Regions from separate parts of the Homo sapiens genome. Here region 1 is linked to region 2. The links are contacts of gene promoters, found by promoter capture Hi-C in blood cells and fetal thymus (Javierre and others, 2016). All regions are on one chromosome and are shown on one strand. Each heading gives the region's core, a stretch centred on a gene start or on the middle of the fragment in contact. The rest is flanking DNA. Distances are from core to core; before and after follow the strand shown.

Evidence for each region. The method cuts DNA at HindIII sites, captures the fragments that hold promoters and counts their contacts. A CHiCAGO score of 5 or more calls a contact.
Region 1: a fragment that was not itself captured here is called in contact with the fragment with the promoter of HTR3E-AS1 in region 2 in 1 of 17 cell types (M1 macrophages); the score reaches 5.1 in M1 macrophages.

Annotation. Positions count from the first base shown.
Region 1 is chr3:183,895,323-183,900,186 of GRCh38, reverse strand. It overlaps the pseudogene CYP2AB1P. Among named protein-coding and RNA genes, the nearest start is that of MIR4448, 11 kb to the right of the region's middle. The HindIII fragment of the contact is 432 bases long and covers 2,939-3,370 here.
Region 2 is chr3:184,102,600-184,107,027 of GRCh38, reverse strand. HTR3E-AS1 (HTR3E antisense RNA 1) reads left to right here and starts at 1,850. Exons shown (of 3, transcript NR_133658.1): 1 at 1,850-1,902; 2 at 2,640-2,868. It overlaps HTR3E (5-hydroxytryptamine receptor 3E), which reads right to left. Exons shown (of 9, transcript NM_001256613.2): 4 at 2,737-2,846; 5 at 2,072-2,241; 6 at 1,601-1,761; 7 at 1,059-1,263; 8 at 685-900; 9 at 33-564. The coding sequence ends at 335. The HindIII fragment of the contact is 6,162 bases long and covers 1-4,428 here.

The DNA of each region.
Region 1 (4,864 bases), core at 1,905-4,404, 210 kb after region 2:
CCACAGGACTGGGGCAAAATTAAAATTGCTAATGAAGTTTCGGGCACCATGGTCATTGATAACATCTTATCAGGAGACAGGGTTTTGAGAGCAACTGGTCTGACCAAAAATTTATTAGGCGGGAATTTCCTCTTCCTAATAAGCCTGGGAGTGCTATGGGAGACTGGGGTCTATTTCACCCCTATAGCCTCGACCATAAGAGACAGGCACACCTAGGGGGGCCGTTTATAGGCCTATACCCCCAGGCGCGTATTCTCTTTCCCAGGGATCTTCCTTGCTGAGAAAAAGAATTCAGTGATATTTCTCCCATTTGCTTTTGAAAGAAGAGAAATATGGCTCTGTTCCACCCGGCTCATCGGTGGTCAGAGTTTAAGGTTATCTCTCGTATTCCCTGAACAATTGCTGTTATCCTGTTCTTTTTTCAAGGTGCCCAGATTTCATATCATTTAAACAGACATGCTCTACAATTTGTGCAGTTAATGCAATTATCACAAGGTTCTGAGGCAACATACATCCTCCTCAGCTGACAGGATTAAGAGATTAAAGTAAAGACAGGCATAGGAAATCACAAGGGTATTGACTGGGGAAGTGATAAGTGTCCATGAAATCTTTACAATTTATGTTTAGAGATTGCAGTAAAGACAGGCATAAGAAATTATAAAAGTATTAATTTGGGGAACTAATAAATGTCCGTGAAATCTTCACAATCCAGGTTCTTCTGCCATGGCTTCAGCCAGTCCCTCCGTTCGGGGTCCCTGACTTCCCGCAACAGGTAACATACCAACATGTGTAGGTGGTGAGGTTGCCATTTTAATGAAAATGAAACAGAGCGACTCATCTTGGTGCCCTGGTGCAGGGTGATGCCTCTGTACATAGAGGTGGTGGCGGGAGCCCTGAGACTTTCCTCGGAAAGGAGCTTTGGCTCTGCCCCGAGTACTGCCCTGGAGTACAGTGGTGTGATCTCAGCTCACTGCAGCCTCCACCTCCGGGGCTCAAGCAATTCTCCCACCTCATCCTCCCAAGTAGCTGGTATTACAGGCACGTGCCACCACGTCCAGCTAATTTTTATTATTTTTATTTTTTTTTTAATTTGTAGTAAAGACGGGGTTTCACCAGGTTGGCCAGGCTGGTCTTGAACTCCTGCCTCTGCCTCTCAAAGTGCTGGGATTACAGGCATAAGCCGCCATGCCCAGCCCCATTATTAACTTATTATTAATTTGCCCAGACTTGAGGTTCCTTCCTCCACAGATTTTTTTCTTCACAGAAGCCCTATCCTTCGGACGCTTTGTTGCTGTTTCTTTTCCATAGATAGAGAAACTTCAGCATAGGCAGCTTAAGAAACTGCCCAAACACAGCTAGTAAGTGACTTAGCTGAGTTTCAAATGCATGTCCCTCTGACTCTAAAGTGTTTTCTTTTCCTACCATATGCCCTGCTGTTTGTATTTATACGAAAATGCCACTCTAGGTAAGTGAACCAATGTGTTCAATGGAGATGTTTTACACTGTCATTCTGTCCTTGGCAGAAATTGGCCAGCAAGTTTACAGGTTTGTCAAGAGTCTCTGGGAAAGTGGATAGGACCAGGGCATCAGGTCATCTTGCTGCTGGCGTGGCAGAAGGACCCAGGCCCAGGTTGTCTAGAAGCTGTGCCAACTTAAGTTAAAAAGAGGGGGCCAGGGTACTGCTCTGTGTTATGCCGTTTGGGATTAGAAATTTCCTTATTAAGAGCTCATTCCTGCCAATTTGATTCTAGGACTTGTTCTGTGATAAAGGCTCCAGGGGCCCATTAACGAGCTGAAATCAATATTGAGCTTTTACAACTTGGACGAGAGATGTCTGCTGAAAGTGGAATCAAAGCTTGACAGTAGATCATTAAATGTTACAGATATTCCTAAACTGTTCCTAACCATTTCATCAGCTGAGTGATCGTGACAACAGCAATAGTCCCTGATACGACGGTTGCACTTCCAGCCTGTCTCTCTTCTCAGACATTCTATTTGATTGCGAATTCCAAATTGCCATTTACTGGGCAGAAGCTGGCACAGCGACCCCAGGAGGTACCCAGCAGGTAGATGGTTCTACAGTCTGGGGAAGTGGAGGGCGGTTGTTGCGGGGGGCGGGGCGCTGTCCTTTTTGCATACTGGATAGGCTGTGCTCTGAACCTGTTCCATGAGCTGAGAACCTCCTTTGCAAGGAGGCCAGAACATCACCCAAAAAAGGACACAAATAATTCTGGAGGGAAAAGAGCATCTTGCTAGGAGCCTCCTCCTCTGAAGGTGATTAGTAAGAACCGTTGCAATGCAGAGGTTACTTAATCCCAGGTAGAGAAAATGGGGGAATTCCCATGACTAGAACTGGGAAATCTATAGCTCACTCAGGCAGCAGCAAGAACACAGGCCTCCCCAACACCTCTGCTTGAAGCTACAGAGTGAGCAAGTCTGGGTGCCCTATTGGTACACATGGCTAGGATGAGGCACCTTGCCTAAGCGTGCCGTACTGCAACAACGGCAAAAAAGAACAATTTCCCCTGAAAACAATTTCTGCATTCTGTTTTTTTTTTTGTTGTTGTTGTTTTGTTTTTTTAGATGGAATCTTGCTCTGTCGCCCAGGCTGGAATGCAGAGGCGTGATCTTGGCTCACTACAACCTTTGCCTGCCTCAGCCTCCCGAGTAGCTGAGACTATAGGCACTTGCCACCACGCCCGACTAATTTTTGTATTTTTAGTAGAGATGGGGTTTCACCGTGTTGGCCAGGCTGGTCTCAAACTCCTGACCTCAAGCGATCCGCCCTGATTGGCCTCCCAAAGTGCTGGGATTACAGGTGTGAGCCACTGCGACCAGCCAGCATCTGCTGCTCCATTTCTGCATTCTTTATTGGTTTCTGTTTAGAATGCAGGCTTCAAACTCGCTAAGCTTTTTTTTTTTTTTTTAATTTCAAGCTTTTTCTTTGGTCAGAATCAAGAATTCTGTAGTCAGCCCTCTGGTCTCTACAGGGATAGCTGGTTTAATTTTGTGGTATTTGGTAAATGAGCCCTGGGGTATGAGGCCTTCCCCGGAATCCCAGAGCTGAGTGTTCTAGGGCTGGGGACCATAACCGACCCCATCCTGGCTCCACTTTGGCCTCCTTATGCTGTTTCCGGTCAGCCCAGGGCCCACATGGTAAGGAGCAGATGTTACCCTGCTCCCATCTGCTTGGTCTGATTCTCTTTCTAATCACTCACTTCTCCTTTGAGATAGAGTGAGGGCTGAGGTGAGGGTGAGAGGGAAGATTTGGGTTTGGGTTTGGGGGAAGGTGAGGGTTGGGGTTAGGTTGAAGGTTAGAGTTGGGCTTATGGTTCATGTTTTCCTCTCCCCAACCCTAAAGAGTGAAGCTTGCTGTCTCCTCTCTGTCTTTCCATCACTCAGTTCCTCTTTCTCTGCTTGTTTGCCATTCCATTTCTCCTCGTTCTGTCTCTTCCTCTTAACACCCACGTGTGCACACATCCCCTGCCCCAGTGTGTATTGTCCTGGGCTGTCCTTGGCCCCTTCCAGACATGCCCCCAGCTGTTGGCCTTCTCTGTAGGAGGCAATGGCTTCATGTCCCTAGACGTGGCTGGGAGTCTTCAGGACAAAGCTGGGCAGTCCTTAGCCAGGAGGGTGTCCTGCTCAGCTCCTTCACTGATGTGAGCCTGGAGGAAGGGCAGCCTGAGGGCCGGCTGCTGAGTCTCCTCAAGGCCCCTGGACTACTCCCACCAACACACTGGGTATTCTCCAAGCTCACTGTGGCTCAGTGTCAGGGCTGGGTACTGGGTACCATCTGAGGCTCCCTGAGCCACACCAGCATCTCTCTGCAGGGCACCATCATCTTACCCAACCTGGCCTCTGTGCTCTATGACCCTGAGTGCTGGGAGACCCCTCGACAGTTCAACCCTGGCCACTTCTCGGACAAGGATGGAAACTTTGTGGCCAATGAGGCCTTCCTGCCATTCTCTGCAGGTACTAGGCACAGAGCTGGATCCTGGGTGGTGGGTGGGGCTGTGGTGGGACAGACACAGGGACAGCTGCCACCTCTGACTTTTCTCTCTGTTTCCAGGGCATCGTGTCTACCCAGCAGACCAGCTGGCTCAAATGGAGCTCTTCCTGATGTTTGCCACCCTCCTCAGGACCTTTCGGTTCCAACTGCCAGAAGGGAGCCCGGGGCTCAAGCTGGAGTACATCTTTGGCGGCACTTGGCAACCCCAGCCCCAGGAGATCTGCGCAGTGCCCCGCCTGAGCAGCCCCAGCCCTGGTCCTAGGGAGGATGGCCTGTAGCCACTGGGGGTCTGGAGGCCTGTCCCCCATGAAGTCCTTCCTCAGTCTCTTTTGGTTCCTGCAAAGTTAGAAAAGAGGAGGACCAGGGGTTCATGCAGCTCAGCTGCTCATGGTTGCCCCTAACACAAGCTCTGTGGGGTGACACTGGAGAATAGACTTAGCAAGGATTCTACAGAGGTAGCTCAGTTTGGGTAGTTCAATTCTTAAATTAGGTTAGTTATGCTTTGGCAGGCGAAGATTTTATAAGATTGGTTAAGTTTGGCATTAAATCAGTCCACAAAGTTAATATTGGGGAATCAAGCCTCACAAGGCAGCAGCTAACTAGGTTCAGAGGAAAAGGCAAACTTTCGAGCAAAACTATGAATATAATAATGCATGCAAATGCGAATACTCTAGATGCCGGGGACTGGTAAACCAAAAAAAAAAAAAAAAAAAAAAAAAGTGAAGCGGGGGCAGCTTATTTTCTGCCTTCTCCTGCCCTCTCCTGACCAGAAGGAAGAACTGCAGTTCTCTGCAGACCTGGGGCAGAGAAAGATCTCACCATCTCAATACAGCAAAGCCAGCAGACCATATAACT
Region 2 (4,428 bases), core at 601-3,100:
TTCTACCCTACGACCTGACAAAGAGCCAGAAATCTCTGCAGAATTATTTATTGGGCAAGTCAGCGGACAGAAGAGGTATAGTCTGCTATGCAGATGACGTAAGAGGGACCTAGAACCATATGGTAGGACTGAAGGAAGCCAACAAAATGCAGGAACAGGGAGAAATGTCTGGGATTGGAATTGATCAGCAGGACCGGATTGGGATACATGGAATACAGCAGAGACTCAGTCATCTTTGGGGATATGATAGTTGGTACTCAGGAAAGGGGGGAGACCTGGCCAGTCCCTGGAGGCAAGAGAAGCTCCAGACTGAAGTTGGCAGGTGAGCACCTGCCTAGGTGTTCCAGAGGCATATGACGGTGATGATAGAGGAGGCCATGAAGAGCAGGTAGAGGCGGAAGAGCATGGCGTCCATCGCGTGGCTGAACTGCAACCACAGCTCCACTGAGTGCTGCTTCTGGGCCTCGTGTTCCCGCTGGGCCCTTGTCCATTCTGAGCCCCCTGTCAGCTCTGCCTCCGCAGGGCCCGGCATCTGCCCTGCTGATACCTCTGGCTCCTTCACACCTACAGAAAGACAGAGACTCAGCCATGGGCTGCAAATGTCACCTGTGGAGGGAGGGAGACAGGGAAGGAGGCAGGAGCAGAGAAGTGGAGGTGGGGGAAGAGGAATGTGACTTCCCTCACCGGGCAGGTGGGTGGGGGTGAGACCCGGGCCCTTATTTTCCTTCTGGGGCGCAGTGGGACAGCATCTCCCCGGGCTGTTGCAGTGGAGCAGCAGGGAGTGGAGCCACCGAGGCAGGGGTGGGGGCTGGGTGGTGGCCACGTGCAGCAGGTGGGTGATGAAGATGGTCTCCAGCAGGCTGCCCACCATCAGGGACAGGCACAGGGCGAAGTAGACACCTGGAGGGAAGGGGGGCCTAGTGAGGGCCAGAGGCACCACCTAGAATTTCTTCTCTTCCAATCCCACCCTGGCAGGCATACGGCCTCCTTTTTCCAAAATACCTCCCTTCCTGAGTTAGTTCCCACCCTTCTCTTCCAAAAGGTGGGAGGAGCCATACCGATGAGGGGGGTGCCACTGGTGGGGAGCAAGTCACTCATCATGAGCAGGAAGACGTTGTAGCCCAGCAGGAGCGTTATCTTGAATGGGACACGATTCCCACTTTTCACTGGCAGGTAGAAGCTGAGGGCATCGATGGCAACCAGAAAGCCACTGGGCACGAGAAGGTTTATGACATAGAGACTGGGCCTGCGCCTGATGGCCACCTGGTGGGGTAGGAGAGGGTGGTAAGTAGTTATGGGGTCAGAGGAACCCTCAAATCCAGGAATAGCAGTGACAATTTCTGTCTCTGCCTTTTTCTTTGGCCTGATATCACCCTGGGATCTGGAGCTGTGGGGAATGCAGCTTTAGAATCTGGTATAGAACCTGCAAAGAGACAGTTAGGCCAGAGCCCTGAGCTTTAGGATGAAGAATGAGGCTGGGAAGCCAGGAGAGAGGGTAACATTGGGAGACCCTGAAACTTGGGAGATACATATTTGATGGACATTCTAGGCAAGGGTAAAAGTGCGGGAGGAAGGAAAGAGTAAGAGCCTCCAAGCTCACATAGAACACGATCTGATCATACAGGTTGCCTCCCCTGGACAACTTTGCGGTGGCCTTGCTGAGGCCCAGGAGCTCCCATTCTCCATGGGTCTGAAGGATGTTCCGGGATGCGTCTGTTATTTCCCACACTTCTTTCTCCATGTCCAGCAACATGCTGTCCACTGAAAATGAGAACCATCTGAATCATTTTTCAAGGAGATAGTTTCCTGGTGGCTCAACTGCACTCTTTTTCCATCCTTTCTTTCAACAAATATTTTTGAGTGCCTCCCACATGCCAGGAAACTTGCCAGGAGCTTGGGATGGTAAGGAACAAGACAGACTTGGGTTCTGCCTTTATGGAAAATATTTTAGCATCCATAGAGCCTTATTCTTCTCCCCACCCATACTCCTTGGTCACCATTTACTCATAGTTTCTTTATATTTGTTGGTTGCTCTCATTCACCCCATCCCTGAGACCTCACTGCAACTTACCTGTGTAGAGGAATGAGCTGAAGGTGAGTGTGCAGTTCTGCTGGTCGAAGGGGAAGTAGAAGATGTCCAGGTTACAGATACTGTCCACCTTCATGGGTTTCTTATACCTGATGCGACCTTCATTACTTACATATGCTGTGAGGCCTTTTGGGGTCTTATCCACATCCATGCTGGAGGAGAGATAACGCAAGAGGCAGGTGCTGCAGTTTCTCTCTCTCTTTTTTTTTTTTTTTTTTTTTTGAGACAGGATCTTGCTCTGTCACCCAGGCTGGAGTAGAGTGGCATGCTCTCAGCTCACTGCAACTTCCATGTCCTGGGCTCAAATGATCCTCCTGTCTCAGCCTCAGCCTCCCAAGTAGCTGGGACTACAGGCGCACCACCAGGCCTGGCTAATTTTTTTTTTTTTTTTTTTTTTAAGAGATGAGGTTTCACCATGTTGCCCAGGCTGGTCTCAAACTCCTGAACTGAAGTGATCCACCCACCTTGGCCTCCCAAAGTGCTGGGATTACAGGCATTAGCCACTGCGCCTGGCTCAGTTTCTCTTCTTATCTCTCTGGTTGTTTCTTAGCCATCTAAAGACCACTTACAGTGGCCCCAATGGTAAACTGTGATCTCTGTGGCTACCAGGAGATGGGACTTCCCTCTGACCAGCCCTTGATACGCACAGTTCAATGATGAAAATGTCTGGGAGCCACAGGTTCTTGGCTGCCATACTCATCTTCGTGATGCCCTCACATTCCTCTGGGTTCCAGCTGATAAATGGGTTATCCCAAACCTAGAGCCCAGGTGGAGGAGAGGTGAGTCTCCTGCCTTTTAATTTCTTCTTTAAAAAAAAAAGTTATGAAATACTTCAAGCATATAGAAAAATATATAAAATGCTGTGACAAACATCTATGTATTTACAACCCAACTTTGTGGCATTAATATTTTATTAAATTTACTTGCTTTTTTTTCAAGAAATGAGAATTATAGATAAAATCGAACCTGCCTGGGACCATTCTTCATAAATTTTGATCAGCCAGCGCTGGTGGTCTGGGAACCACACTTTGAGAGTGAGGTTAGATGATTGTATTATCTTTCTCCAGCTCCTTCCTTCCTTTCCTCCAAGCAGGCTTTTCTTTTTTTCTTTTTTCTTTTCTTTTTCTTTCTTTTTTTTTTCTGAGATGGAGTCTTGCTCTGTCACCCAGGCTGGAGTGCAGTGGCGTGATCTCGGCTCACTGCAACCTCCACCTCTCGGGTTCAAGCGATTCTCCTGCCTCAGCCTCCTGAGTAGCTGGGATTACAGGTGTGTGCCACCATCTGGCTAATTTTTTTTTTTTTTTTTTTTTGAGATGGAGTCTTGCACTGTTGCCTGGGCTGGAGTGCAGTGGCGCGATCTTGGCTCACTGCAACCTCTGCCTCCTGGGTTCAGGCCATTCTCCTGCCTCAGCCTCCCGAGTAGCTGGGACTACAGGCGCCTGCCACCACGCCTGGCTAATTTTTTGTATTTTTAGTAGAGACGGGGTTTCACCGTGTTAGCCAGGATGGTCTTGATCTCCTGACCTCATGATCCACCCGCCTCGGCCTTCCAAAGTGCTGGGATTACAGGCGTGAGCCACCGCGCCCGGCCACCACCCGGCTGATTTTTTTATATTTTTGGTAGAGATGGAGTTTCATCATGTTGGCCAGGCTGGTCTCGAACTCCTGACCTCAAGTGATCCACCTGCCTAGGCCTCCCAAAGAGCTGGGATTATAGGTGTGAACCACCAAGCCCAGCCATCAAGCAGGCTTTTCAAGTTGGAAACTCAATTCATTTGCTTTTATTTCCCCCCATCCTCCCACACACCTTGTTTTCTTATCAATGCAATTAAGATATAAATTTTCCACTGGGTTATGCTTTGACTACATTCCATAGATTTTCATATGTATAATTTTCATTTCTAATTACTTCGTAATTTCTACTTAATTGCTTTATTTTCTCCTTTGCCTCAAATATTTAGAAGTTTAATTTTAAATTCCCAAGAAACAAGGTTTTCTTTTCTTTTTTTTTTTTGAGATGCAGTCTCACTCTGTAGCCTAAGCTGGAGTGCAGTGGTGTGATCTCGGCCAACTGCAACCTCTGTCTCCCTGGCTCAAGCGATTCTTGTGCCTCAGCCTCCCGAGTAGCTGGGACTACTGGCACATGTCACCATGCCTGGCTAATTTTTTGTATTTTAGTAGAGACGGTGTTTCACCATGTTGCCCAGGGTGGTCTTGAACTCCTGAGTTCAGGCGATCCACCGGCCTCGGCCTCCCAAAGTGCTGGGATTACAGGTGTGAGCCACTGTGCCCAGCTTTTTTTTTTTTTTATATACTTTAAGTTTTAGGGTACATGTGCA